Regions from separate parts of the Homo sapiens genome. Here region 2 is linked to region 1. Evidence: promoter capture Hi-C in human tissues and cell types (Jung and others, 2019). All regions are on one chromosome and are shown on one strand. Each heading gives the region's core, a stretch centred on a gene start or on the middle of the fragment in contact. The rest is flanking DNA. Distances are from core to core; before and after follow the strand shown.

Region 1 (6,372 bases), core at 2,796-5,295:
CCCACCTGGTATTTGACAAGAATAATTCATTACATTTCATCTTGCTGGCCTCATGTCGCATTTTCAAGTCCCCCCTTACACATTTCACACCCACACAAATCCTCTCTTATTTTCTCCTACCCCCATCCTCTCTCCTTCTTTCAAACCCAGGGGTTATATTTTGAATTGACCTTCTAGAAATATAAAGCACAGTGCAAGTAGGCACAGAAAAAAAGCTAAAGTCAACCTGAGCATTACCAAGCCCGAGGGCTGCATTTGACGGCAGATCTGTGAGGCACTGCTTGGTCTAAATCTAAGTCCAGTGCTTGGTACCTTATTTGGATATTGCTGCTTTCATTGCTTGAGCTGTTCTTCCAAACACTGGCGTACTCAGCTACTTTTCAGTATGATGTAAGTACCACAAGCATTGCATTGTCCTAGTGGTTCTAGCAGGGGATTTCAGATAAGAGTCTACATTTGAATACATTCTAAATCTTAGGTAGAAGTGAATATTTAAGAAATGCACTTGAAAGCGTCACTTGATAAACTGGAAAAAAAAAATCCCAGTTTCAGAGAGGTGAGGCTGACTCCTCTTTAATCTTCAAAGCAAGTGACAGCTTGAAATAGTCAAAAAGAAGGCCTGAAGGGATCAGCTGCACCCAACCTAATCTAATTATTCTTCCACTGGTACTTAACTGAAGGTCCTTGCCTTCCTGTGCATTAATTGCTCAAATATATACTGCTGACTTTCTAAAGCCAGTAAAGTGTCTTATGAAGCTATACTCAAGCGATTTCAAATGTTAAGAAATAGGGCAGTTATTCACAATATTAAAATTCCCCACCCCCACTCTCTGTCACTAAATGTAGAGAACATTCGTAGAAGTGGATTCAGGAAAGCACGGTAGTTAGAGCAGTCGGTGCTGTCGTGGGGGTGTTCAGAAAGTAACTCTTACTGGAAAGTGGGAAAATAACTAGAATTTGGAAACCGAGTACAGATGCTCTGCAACTTATGATGAGGTTACATTCTGTAAATTGAAAATATTGTAAGTCAAACATGCATTTCATATACCTAACCTACCGACGAACATCACAGCTTAACCTAGCCTATCTTAAATGTATCCAGAACATTTACATTAGCCTCCAGTTGGGCAAAATGATCCAATATGAAGCCCATGTTATAGTAAAGTGTTGACTATCTCATGTAATTTATTGAATACTGTACTGAATGTGAAAAACAGAAAGGTCCTAGGGGTATTCAAAGTACGGTTTCTACTGAATGCCTATCGCTTTCACACCGTCATAAACAAAAAATCATAAGTCAGGGACCATCTGTATTAAAAGAGTTTCTAAACCATGACAGTTGGCTTCAACAATTTTGTCTGAAGGAAAGGGAATATTCAGAAAGGGCATAGATATTTTAGGTTCTAGAAAGGCATGTTTAGAAAGCCATAATTTTTTTGTAGCTTACTGGAGCATGTGCAAATGTCATAAGATACAATTCTTAGCTTCATTCCCAGCTCCATTTTAAATCTCTACTCCAAAATAAATAAATAAATCTCTACTCCACCCCTCTAAGCCTCCCAATCCCCACCCACCTTTTTTTTCTTGTTTTGTGCCACTTATAATGTATACTATCTCACAGTTTATGCATCCTTATACGTTGCCATAAATCTTTTGGGGGATAAAGTGGGGGAAATAAATAAGTATATTTTTAAAGTGGGGATTTTCCCATTGAGATTTGTTTTTTGTTTTTCTGCGATCAATCCAGGCTGGAGGGCAGTGGTGTGAATACAGCTCACTGCAGCCTCCACCTCCTGGGCTCAAGTGATCCTCCTGCCTCAGCCTCCCAAAGTGCTGGGATTATAGGCATGAGCCACTGTACCTGGCCCCTGAGATTTCTCCATGGAACAGACCCACTGTTTCTTTGACATTTGTGTTGGTTTGACACCAGCATGTTTTCCATTTTCTCTGTACCAAGCTATTGTGAATTTGTGGACAATGAAAATAATTTGAAATCTCTGCTCTTAAAGAACTCAAGTTTTCTTTAGAACTATTTAAAAAACACCAAAGGAAACCTCTGAAAATCCTGTCCATCGTTCAGTCAGTAGCTGCTGTATCCAGTGTCTATCATCGTGAATGTCATGGCATGTACAGAGAAACTGAAATGCTGGATGCAATTCTAGGTGGTGGTGTAAAGTTTTTGAGTTGGCAGAAAATAAAGAATAAAAGAAAGAAAAAACTTCCGTGATCTCAAGACCCAGAGAGCTTCTTAACATTTTGCTGTATTTCCTTACAGTCTTTTTCTCTGAACATTTAACGTAAATAAGCTCTTAATTTTATAGCTGCATATCCAGTTCTGCAGTTTTGTGCCCTAACAAGCAATTCCTTAATTTATTAAAAACATTTTCCTGTATATTTTCAACCCCATAATTTACATAAACTCCCTCATCTCCGGACATTCATATTGCTTTCAAGTGAACTATTTGGAACGTCCACGAGTAGAAATATTGGAGAGTAGACAGATAAGAGACTGAAGGCATCAATTTCTCCATGATAACTAGCTAAAAACACTGTAGTGGTTTTCCCTATTTTTTTTTCTGCCAAGCCTTTGGCATCTGACTAAATTTTGCTGCTTTCACTCCTTTCTGAGTTCCACCCCTTTCTTGAGGCCTCTCATCTTGTTTCCCAGTAATGTTAATGAACAAAAGGTTATCTGCCTAGCGAGTTCCTTTTCCAAGCGTTTGAGACAATTCGACAAGATTATGAGACTGCGAACTGGAGTCTTTTATCTTTAAAAGGTATTTTAATCTGAGCCTTCTTGACGTTTATTTTCTGAGCCCATGAATTTGCTAGCGAGGCAGTTTCTCTGGTTTGCTGTTTCTGAAAGGAGTTCCCTCAACAGAGTACAACAGTTAATGGGGGAAGTGGAAACAAAAGCGGGAAGCAGGAGGACCGTTCCCCATCACTAGCCAGTCTTCAACAGGTGAAGTTGTTTAGCTCTTCCTGGTACCTGCAGGCACCGTTCCAGAAGTATTAAAATCCAAGGTGTGGCTGAGGGTGGGATGGAACATGTATCTCCATCTAACAGCTTTAATAGACTGTTAGTTCTAACTTGCATATAAAAACACACAAATAAGTACAAAGAGCTGGAGAAGCTGGGGAAACAGTTTCTGAGTAAAACCTGTGGCACTAGGTTGTGTCTTTCCTTTCCCCTCAGGCAAGAGCATCATCTGTTTGACTGGCATCTGGCTGGAGCGTCCGAAGGGGTTAAGAACGCTTGCAAACTCCTGGGAGTCCAGTAGGAGTTGCTGATGGTGCCGGACATTGCTTGCAAAGCAATTTTTGTGGTTCACCTCCCTCGGGGTTTTCTTATTCTTTTGTAGGACATTCAAGGAGTTGGTTTGGGCATTTACTTTTTAAAGTTTCTCCGTCCCAGACTCCTCTCTCCAGCTCCCGGGGTGCGGCACCTCTCACCTCCCTGAGGCTTTTTGTCTCGCTGCAGGCGTGGGGAGGGGGCGAGAGGACTTTGTTCTCCGAAAACGACCTTGCCCTGGGAATTTCCTGGGGCCGTTTCTCACGGACAAGCCCCCTCTCCCTGCTGCCAGCGCGGACACACGCCGCGGGGGCCCCAGTCCAGCCTGAGCTCTAGACGCCCCGCCGGCCACCAGCGCCCCGGGAAAGGCCGCCCGCGCTCCCCCGCTCCCCCTCCTCAGGGCCCGCCGCCTAGAGCCCGGATGTTGGATTCAATTCCTGAGCCGGGTCCTTCATTTCCATAAAAGGGCAGCGCTCCGCGGGGCCGAGATTGCCGCCCCGCCGCGCCCCCCGCCACCCCCGCGCCGCCCCGCCCCACGCCGCCCCGCCCCGCCCGGGACCCGCAGCCCCCTCCCCCGAGCGCGGCGCCGGGAGGGCGGGGGCAGAGGCGAGGCCGGCCGGACCCGCTCAGGGCAGCTCTGCGGGCGGCGAAGGAGGGAGCCAGCGCGCCCAGCCCAGCCAGGCTCGGACAGAGGGGGCGGGGAGAGGGTGGAGCGCGGGGAGCCAGGCGAGGGGCCGCGACGACGGGACTCCATTAGCCGCTCCGGCCACAGGCAGCGCTTCGCCAGCCGAGGAACCGGACGCGGACACCGCCGCCCCGCGAGCCTCCAGCCCCTCGCCTGTTGCCGCGCGAGTCCCGGGCCCGGAGCGCTAGGAGCGCGCGGTGAGGGAGCGGGACCCCGCCGGGACCCGAGGGGGCGCGGCGGGGAGGGGAACGGGGAGTCAGCCCGCGCTGTGTCTCGGGGCCGGCCGGCAGGTGAAGCCCTCCGCGGTCCGCTAGGCGGGGACGGTGTGGGGCGGGCGGCGCCGGGACCGAGGAACGCTGCGGGGCGAGCGGGGCGTAGGGTCCTCCCGCAGCCCCGGCCGCCGCCGCCCTCCCGAGTTTCTGCCGAAAGCCCCGGGTCCTCCACCACCTCCCAGCCCGTGGCCGGCGCTGCGAATTCGGTGGGATTCGCCTTTCTTTGGGGGAGTGACGCTTACGAGAGCCATTTCCTCCGCGCTCGCAGGAAGGAGCCATGGCTCTGGACGGGATAAGGATGCCAGATGGCTGCTACGCGGACGGGACGTGGGAACTGAGTGTCCATGTGACGGACCTGAACCGCGATGTCACCCTGAGAGTGACCGGCGAGGTGCACATTGGAGGCGTGATGCTTAAGCTGGTGGAGAAACTCGGTGAGTAGCATCCCAGCCGCGTCCAACTAATGACTTCCCAGAATTGGTAGGGGGAGGAAAGAGGCTCACGACGGGGGAGGGGCCCATTTGAGAAATCTTGGCATCTCGCAAATGCTTTTTGGAGATGTAAAATCTTTCAGTATTTAAGCAGATAGACCTGTTCCCCTTTGCGTCTTATTTTGTTTTGCTATTCTCTGAATTTTCATATGTAATGATTCGAGCCTCCCAATTATAACCTTAATTGCGTAGTTACGCGGGACGGGGGATGTGTGCCGGGGAACTCGTTAATTCTTAACATTTACTGACAGAACGATAAAAGAATGAGGAAAGTGTGTTGGGAGGGTGATATTACAGTGTCCGTGGTTATCTATGTCTTCAGCATACCTGAATGTTAGTGACGTTTGGTATAGAGAATGATGCAAAATCCATTTAAGAAAAATCTGTGCTGGAAAATGTGCAACTACTGGCGCCAGTGTGAAGTTTCTGTGGCTGTTCTACGTGGTGGAGTGCATTAAAATGTTCCAGTCATCCACTCTTACTAGGGGTGGGGCAGTGCTTGACAAACTTGGTATCCATAGTCCATGCTCGATGTAAGCCGTTTCGAGCGTTCGGTTTTATATTAATAACAAGCCAAGGAAAGAACTTTGTGTTAAAAAGCAGACTTTGTTAAACTAATTTGAGGTTGACGGTGTTTGCTTGAGTACAAATATGTATTGGATTGATATCCGATTTAAAATAATAAGGTATCTTACAGTATGAAGTGTGTGAAGAGTGTGCAGTACACATTTTTGTGATGAATGAAACCATTTTCATCTGGAAGAGTCAGCTAAATAGATGATTTGATCATAAGAGAAATGCTCAGAGAACTATCTTCCTGAGCTTTAAAGAGCCTTTTGTACATAATACAGTTGTGATAAGATGATTATCTGTGTGGCATTGTCTTTTTAGGCTGGAATTGTTTTTTGTTTTGGTGAAGGGGGGTTGGGGACTTTCTGGGGGTTTTTTTCGTCTTTTTTTTTTTCTTTTTTTTTTTAAACACAGCATTCGTTTTCAAGCTACACTGGGAAAGTAGAGAAGTGCTTATTTGTCAGGAAATCTATTTCTTACCAAAGGATTATTGTATGTAAAGGTACTGAAATAGCACTCTGATGCATTTTGCAAAATAAGGCAGGATTCATTTGGGTGGACCTGCTTTGTACCCCTGCAGGAAGTTTTATTATTGAAGGACCAAAGTGAAGCTCCTTACAAGGTAGCCTCTTCCTTAAGACTGCATTGTTTGGCTCCCTGAGATACAGCTCAGGAAAGAAAATCCTCCTAGGTAGCCCAGTGAAAATTAGATTTTGCTGTATTGATTAACCATTTAACTGGCAGTTAACAGTATTTTTATCTGATTTGAATAAATCAGTCACTGTTTGCAAAATATGTATGAACCTTTTTTGTCCAGCTCTGGTATGAGATTATTTAAGAAGGAAAATAGCAAATATTTGGATATTTTGTTTTCAAAGAAAACAAGCATTTTTGTTAGAGCTTTTCTAATTTATGGTAAATGGACCATATTAATACATTGGTCTCAATAGGAGATATTTTTTATATTGCAAAAAAAGGAGCTGTTGAAGGTGACTGAGACAACTTGTAGTTCTCGAAAGCCAGGCTGTAGCTAATGAATAAATAATGGTTTCTATATTTATT
Region 2 (6,402 bases), core at 2,093-4,592, 66 kb after region 1:
TATATAATGTCAGGTTTTTCCTCCTCCATGGTCAACAATTACATACATAGTAAATAAGTTATAAGTATTATTGAATACATAATCTTTCACTTAATCGCCACAAAATACCAGCAGTTTTGGTGATGTCTTCATTTTACTTCTGAGGAAATAACTCCACAAGGGTTAAGTGGAGTTATTTTCCCAAGGTTAAGTAATTTTATTTAACCTTTTAGTTAAATAAAGTTTAACTTTTTTTAACTAAAGTTAAGTAATTTTAGTTAACTTTAGTTAAGTAATTTTCGTTACTTAGTTAAGTAATTTTCCCAAGGTCACAAAGGTAATAAGGAGCAGAGCTAGAATTCACATCCAGGCTCCGGTGCTCATGCTTCTAACCATTAAGTAACCAATTCTTTTTTTTTTAAGAGACAGGGTCTCTCTGTGTTGCCCAGGCTGGTCATCAACTCTTGGCCTCAAGTAATCCTTTCACCTCAGCCTCCCAAAGTGCTAGATTATGGGCATGAGCTACCATGCCTGGCCATAATGTTTATTTTATGAATTATAATAGGAATGTTTGCTAAATTTTTTCTTTCTTTTTTTTTTAAGGGACAGGGTCTTGCTATGTTACCCAGTCTGGTCTCAGACTTCTGGGCTCAAGTGATCCTCCTCCCTCCGCCTCCCAAGTAGTTGGGACTTCAGGCAGATGCCAGCATGGCCAGCTAATTTTTGTATTTTTTGTAGAGATGAGGTTTTGCCATGTTTCCCAGGCTGGTCTCAAGCAATCCTCCTGCCTTGGTCTCTCAGAAGTGCTGGGATAGCTACTAGGGAGGCTGAGGCAGGAGAATCACTTGAACCCGGGAGGTGGGGAGGTTGCAGTGAGCCAAGATCGCACCATTGCACTCCAGCCTGGGCGACAGAGCGAGACTCCATCTCAAAAAAAAAAAAAAAGTGCTGGGATCACTGCACCTAGCCTCAAAACATTTTTTAAAACTATTCTTTTAAGTACAAAAGTATCACATGCTTATAGTAAATATTCAAATATTACAGGATTACATATTCATTTTTTTTCTAACAAAAGTGGGACTGTGTTATACACACATTGTGTTTTCTCACTTGATGATACATACTGATGGACCTCATATATTTTTTAATTACAAAATTTATACATGAATACAGTCTCTTTATCATAAACTCAAGTAATATAAAAAATGTATTAAAATTAAGGTGAGTTCCTTTTAAACTTATTCCCTGGCTACTCCTTCTCAAGAGGGAGCCATTTCTTGATTACTACATATAACGAGGTTGTAAGTTTGGAGTCCAACTTGACAGTACCGTTTCTGTGTGTTTATATGCACAAGTGGGTATAAAATTTGCACATCTAGTCTTATTTTAATAACATAAATGAGATCCTAATATATATTTTATGCTCTGCAATTTGATTTTTGGTGATCAGTGTTTTAGTGATTTGTGTCAAAGCAGAGAAGTCTCCCTAGTTCTTATAAATGACTTCAGAGTTTTACCTATAGAAAAAGTATATTTACCTGTTTTTCTACCTAGGTGGTATCTAATTTTTCTGTCACATATATCCCAGAGCTGGGCGTTGTGGTGTACACCTGTAGTCCTAGCTACTTGGGAGGCTGAGACAGGAGGATCTCCTGAGCCCAGGAGTTCAACCTGGGTGGTCACACTGCTGCATTCCAGCCTGGGCAACAGAGCAAGACCCTGTCTCTAAAAAAATACATGTATGTGTAGATACATATATATCTATACATTATATCACACACACTCTGTCTGTCTCTCTCTCTCTCTCTCCCCCCCAAGAGTTTCTGTGGTTTATACTTCCATCAGTAGTACATGAAAATGCCCCATTTCCTACATTCTGCTCAATATTGAATGTTGTAAATCTGTGTTTTTGCCAGTTTGACAATAAGTAGTATCTCGGTTATTTTGCATTTCCCTAATACTAGGATAGTTGAATAATTTATATGTTTATTAGCCATTTATATTCTATTAATTTTCAAATGATAGATTCTTTATTTTATTTATATTTTTGCTTTTAGTGATATTAAAATTTTAATGTGTTACTTCCCTTTATATACTGGCATTTTGTTTGTGGCCTTTTTTTTTTAAAACCATATTGTTTTACATTTTTATGTGGTCTTATATCTGTTAGCCATTTACTTTATAGTTCTAGGTTTACTCTTGCTTGGGAAAATTTTCTCCAAAAATATAAAAATAATACCATAAAAATTCTTTTGATAAAATATGGTATAAGATAGGTATTTTGGTGAAAATTTTTTAAAATGTATTACTTTAGTACTCTTTTTAAAAAATATACAATTTATAATAAGTTAGGTAAATTTTACTGTGTTAAAATATAGCAATATTTAGGAGTTGTTTGATTATATCGGGTTTTAAATATCTACAGTAGGTGGACTCAGACTGTAGTGCTTTTTGAACTCTATTTCTCCCCCTTAGAGTTTTTAAGTTATCTTTCCATGTCATTTAGTAAGCTCATATTTTGTTGCTAAATCTGCTACTTTATCTTACACTTTACTAGTTTGCTGCCTCAGATGCATTTTAAACCAGACATTCAAGAAAACAACTTAGTTGGGATTGTCTCTGAACCACGATGAAGGAATTTAAAATACCCATACCCTCTGACCCAGCAGTGCTGCTAGAATTGGGAAATAACTACAAAAATGTTTGTTGAAGCATTGGTTTGCAATAATGACATTAGTAACAGATTTTTTTTTTTTTTTTTTTTTTTTTTTGAGACTAAGTCTCGCCCTGTTACCCAGGCTGGAGTGTAGTGGTGTGATCTTGGCTCACTGCAACCTCTGCCTTCTGGGTTCAAGCGATTCTCCTGCCTCAGCCTCCTGAGTAGCTGGAACTACAGGAGCATGCCACCATGCCTGGCTAATTTTTGTATTTTTAGTAGAGACGGGGTTTCACCATGTTGGCTAGGCTGGTCTCAAACTCCTAACCTCAGGTGATCCACCCGCCTTGGCCTCTCAAAGTGCGGGCATTACAGGCATGAGCCACCGCACCTGGCCAGAATTTTATTTTTTTATTTTTATTTTTCGAAACACAGTCTCATTCTGTCACCCAGGCTGGACTGCAGTGGCACAATCTCTGCTCACTGCAACCTCCACCTCCTCGGTTCAAGCGATTCTCCTGTCTCAGCCTCCCAAGTAGCTGGGACTATAGGCGTGCACCACCACACCCAGCTTATTTTTTATATTTTTAGTGGAGACAGAGTTTCACCATGTTGGCCAGGCTGGTCTTGAACTCCTGACCTCAGGTGATCTGCCTGCCTCGGCCTCCCAAAGTGCTGGGATTACAGGCATGAGCCACCTTACAGTAACAGAATTTTAAAAAATAGGTGCACACCAATTGGGAATGGCTTACGTAAGTTATAGTACATGGAGGCAGTGTGTAGCCCTACAGCCAGACTGGCTGGGGTTTTTTTGTTTGTTGTTTTTGAGACGGAGTTTCGCTCTTGTCACCCAGGCTGGAGTGCAATGGTGCAGTCTCTCACTGCAAACTCCGCCTCCCGGGTTCAAGTGATTCTCCTGCCTCAGCCTCCCAAGTAGCTGGGATTACAGGCAGGCTGCCACCATGCCTGGCTAATTTTTTGTATTTTTAGTAGAGGCGGGGTTTCACCATGTTGGCCAGGCTGGTCTCGAACTCCTGACCTCAGGCAGTCTGCCCACCTTGGCTTCCCAAAGTGCTGGGATTACAGGCTTGAGCCACCGCGCCTGCCCAGACTGGCCGATTTATAGCTTGGCTGCAGCTTACTTGCTCTTGACCTTGGACAAGTTATTTAACCTTGCTTTGCCTCAGTTTGCTCCTCTGAAGTGAGAATAATAGAGTTGTTGTGAACGCTAAGTGAGTTTATTATCACATAGTGCCTACAGAACAAATAAGAACAACGAAGTGATTAAGTATGAATTGAAGAAGATACAAACTATAGGAAGTTGAAACGCAGATTTGGGTGGGTGGCTGATTCTATTAAATGTGTGATTGTATTTGTTCATTCTTGAATTGCTATAAGGAAATACCTGAGACTTGGTAACTTAGGAGAAAAGAGGTTTAATTGGCTCACAGTTCTGCAGGCTGTCCAGGAAGCATGGTGGCATCAGCTCCTGGGGAGGCCTCAGGAAACTTACAATTACAGCGGAAGGCGGAGGAGGAGCCAGCACTTCACGTGGCTGGAACAGGAGGTAGGGGTGGGAGTGGGGAGGTGCCACACACTTTAAACAACCAGATCTCATGAGAAGTCACTGACTATACAGTACCAAGCGGGGATGGTGCAAAACCATTATGAGAACTCCACCCCTGTGATTCAGTCACCTCCCACCAGGCCCCTCCTCCAACATTGGGGATTACAATTAGACATGCGATTTGGGCAGGGACACTGATCCAAACCATATCAGTGATTTAGGGGGAGTATCTTTTCTATATTAGAAACTTTATAAAGCAAATTGTCCATTCTAACTTGACTCAGTTTTGGATAGAAATTATAATCTCACCAGGTGCACATTTTCAGTATACTGACATTCTTCGTAACAGATTTATTTAATAGATCTTTGAAAGAAACAAGACTTTGCCTAGAAGTTAATGTTTTTTCACACTTTATCTACATGCACACTCTGTAGCAGAAATACCCTTTGCCCAACTGAGTTGGAGTAATGTGTTCAGCACATTTAATAAGTGTGGGGTGCCCAATTAGTCCTTTCAAAAGGTGTCACACAATTTTAAGTTTGAAAAATACCTGTCTAGTTTAAGGATCTAGCTTTTAAAGCCCCAGGACTAACGATCCCAGTATTCTTTAAATGCTGATAAAGAGTTCACAACTTTGCTTTGTGTTTTAGGATTAACAGTGTTCGGATTTTAGAGGGTTTTTTGTTTGTTTGTTTGTTTGTTTGTTTGAGATAGAGTCTTGCTTTGTTGCCTAGACTGGAGTGCATTGATGCAATCTTGGCTCACTGCAGCCTTCGCCTCCCGAATAGCGTGCACCACCACTCCTGGCAAATTTTTGTGTTTTTAGTAGAGACAGGGTTTCTCCATGTTGGCCAGGCTGATCTCGAATTCCTGACCTCAAGTGATTCAACCGCCTCAGCCTCCCAAAGTGCTGAGATTACAGGAGTGAGCCACCACACCTGGCCTAGATTTTACAGGTTTTTTTTAGTACTAACATTGGAAGAACACATGTCAGGGACATAAAATCAAATATCCTGTGTCCAGCAAGAGATTACATATTTTCAGTAAAAACTTTTTTTTTTTAACTTTGCTTCCTAGACTAGGTCATGACAGCTACAAAAATCTCTAGCATTAGCACCACTTTTTCACAGGCAGTGTTTCTATCATTGCATGGGGAGAAGAGTTAAAAATAGTAGGAAAGGAGATGGATTTCTAAGCTTAACCCTAAATTTAGGGAATGGAAAAGCCATTTTCTTTACATTAACAGTGTTATGCCCATTGCACATTTTCTTTTGAAAAATTATGACAACAGGACAAAATATAATTTAACAGAGCTAGGACTTGGGGGAGCTGCTTGTCCTTAATGTCATTCTGAACATTTTTAGATGCCTTAAATTCATCTCCTTAATTTTTGTAGTTTAAATAAAGGAGCACATACCATCTGTTGACTAATGTAACAAATTGTTATTTACGTAACCTCTACTATATGTCTAGCCCTAATACTAAGAAATCAGAAGATAAATAAGGCAATATCCCTTCCTTTTGAGATTTGACTATTAAATATATCTCTGTTTAGACTCTTTCTAGGGCAGACTTTTATCTCCCCTTTTACATTAATACTTTATTTGTTGTACCCCAGAACTTAAAAATTAAAAAAAACTTTATTTGTAAAATTGTTGAAACCTGTTTATTCACTGAGAAGACTTTACTATAAAATTATTCTTAATCTATATGAATTCAGTTCTATTGTGTTACCTTCAAATTGTATGGATTTCAAATGGTGGTAAAAGTTGTAGACATATTTGTCACTATATACTTGACTACAGCACAACTTCATTCTTTTAAATTGAACAAAAAAAACCGTTTTACTTAGGTTGTAGCTTCTAAGGTTCTTTACTCTGAAATCCACTTGAAATGTGTACTTCAGTTTATGATTCACAATTAGGGAAAATCTGTTTTTTCTTTTTCTCATTTTCTTTTCATTCTTTTGTTTCTGTCCTCTGTTGTGGCCTTTCCTTTACCTTCTGAATTCCTTTCTTTCCTTTCCTATAGGCACTGATGTTCTTTACATTGGCCCTCTGAAAGGTGAGCCTTGCCACAATTTAAAGACAAAAAGTGTTGGTCTGTCTGCTTCAGCTATATCCTTATTTTCTAATTCTCTTGAACTGATTTTTTTTCCCCAGAATTTCTGCCAACTTAATTATATTCTTAAGGCTTTAT

What was found. Contacts are between HindIII fragments. The study calls those that stand out against the background at their distance.
Region 2: a fragment that was not itself captured here is called in contact with the fragment with the promoter of FERMT2 in region 1 in 3 of the 25 tissues and cell types used here (liver, mesenchymal stem cells and mesendoderm cells).

What each region holds. Positions count from the first base shown.
Region 1 is chr14:52,948,723-52,955,094 of GRCh38, reverse strand. It overlaps FERMT2 (FERM domain containing kindlin 2), which reads left to right and starts at 4,045. Exons shown (of 15, transcript NM_006832.3): 1 at 4,045-4,174; 2 at 4,518-4,683. The coding sequence starts at 4,527. RefSeq lists an enhancer at 2,768-3,346 and a silencer at 4,067-4,276. The HindIII fragment of the contact is 21,614 bases long and covers 1-6,372 here.
Region 2 is chr14:52,881,661-52,888,062 of GRCh38, reverse strand. All of the region lies in intron 4 of FERMT2 (FERM domain containing kindlin 2), which reads left to right. All of the region lies in intron 1 of LOC105370500 (a long non-coding RNA gene), which reads right to left. Among named protein-coding and RNA genes, the nearest start is that of FERMT2, 66 kb to the left of the region's middle. RefSeq lists enhancers at 3,113-3,638, 3,639-4,164. The HindIII fragment of the contact is 9,630 bases long and covers 1-6,402 here.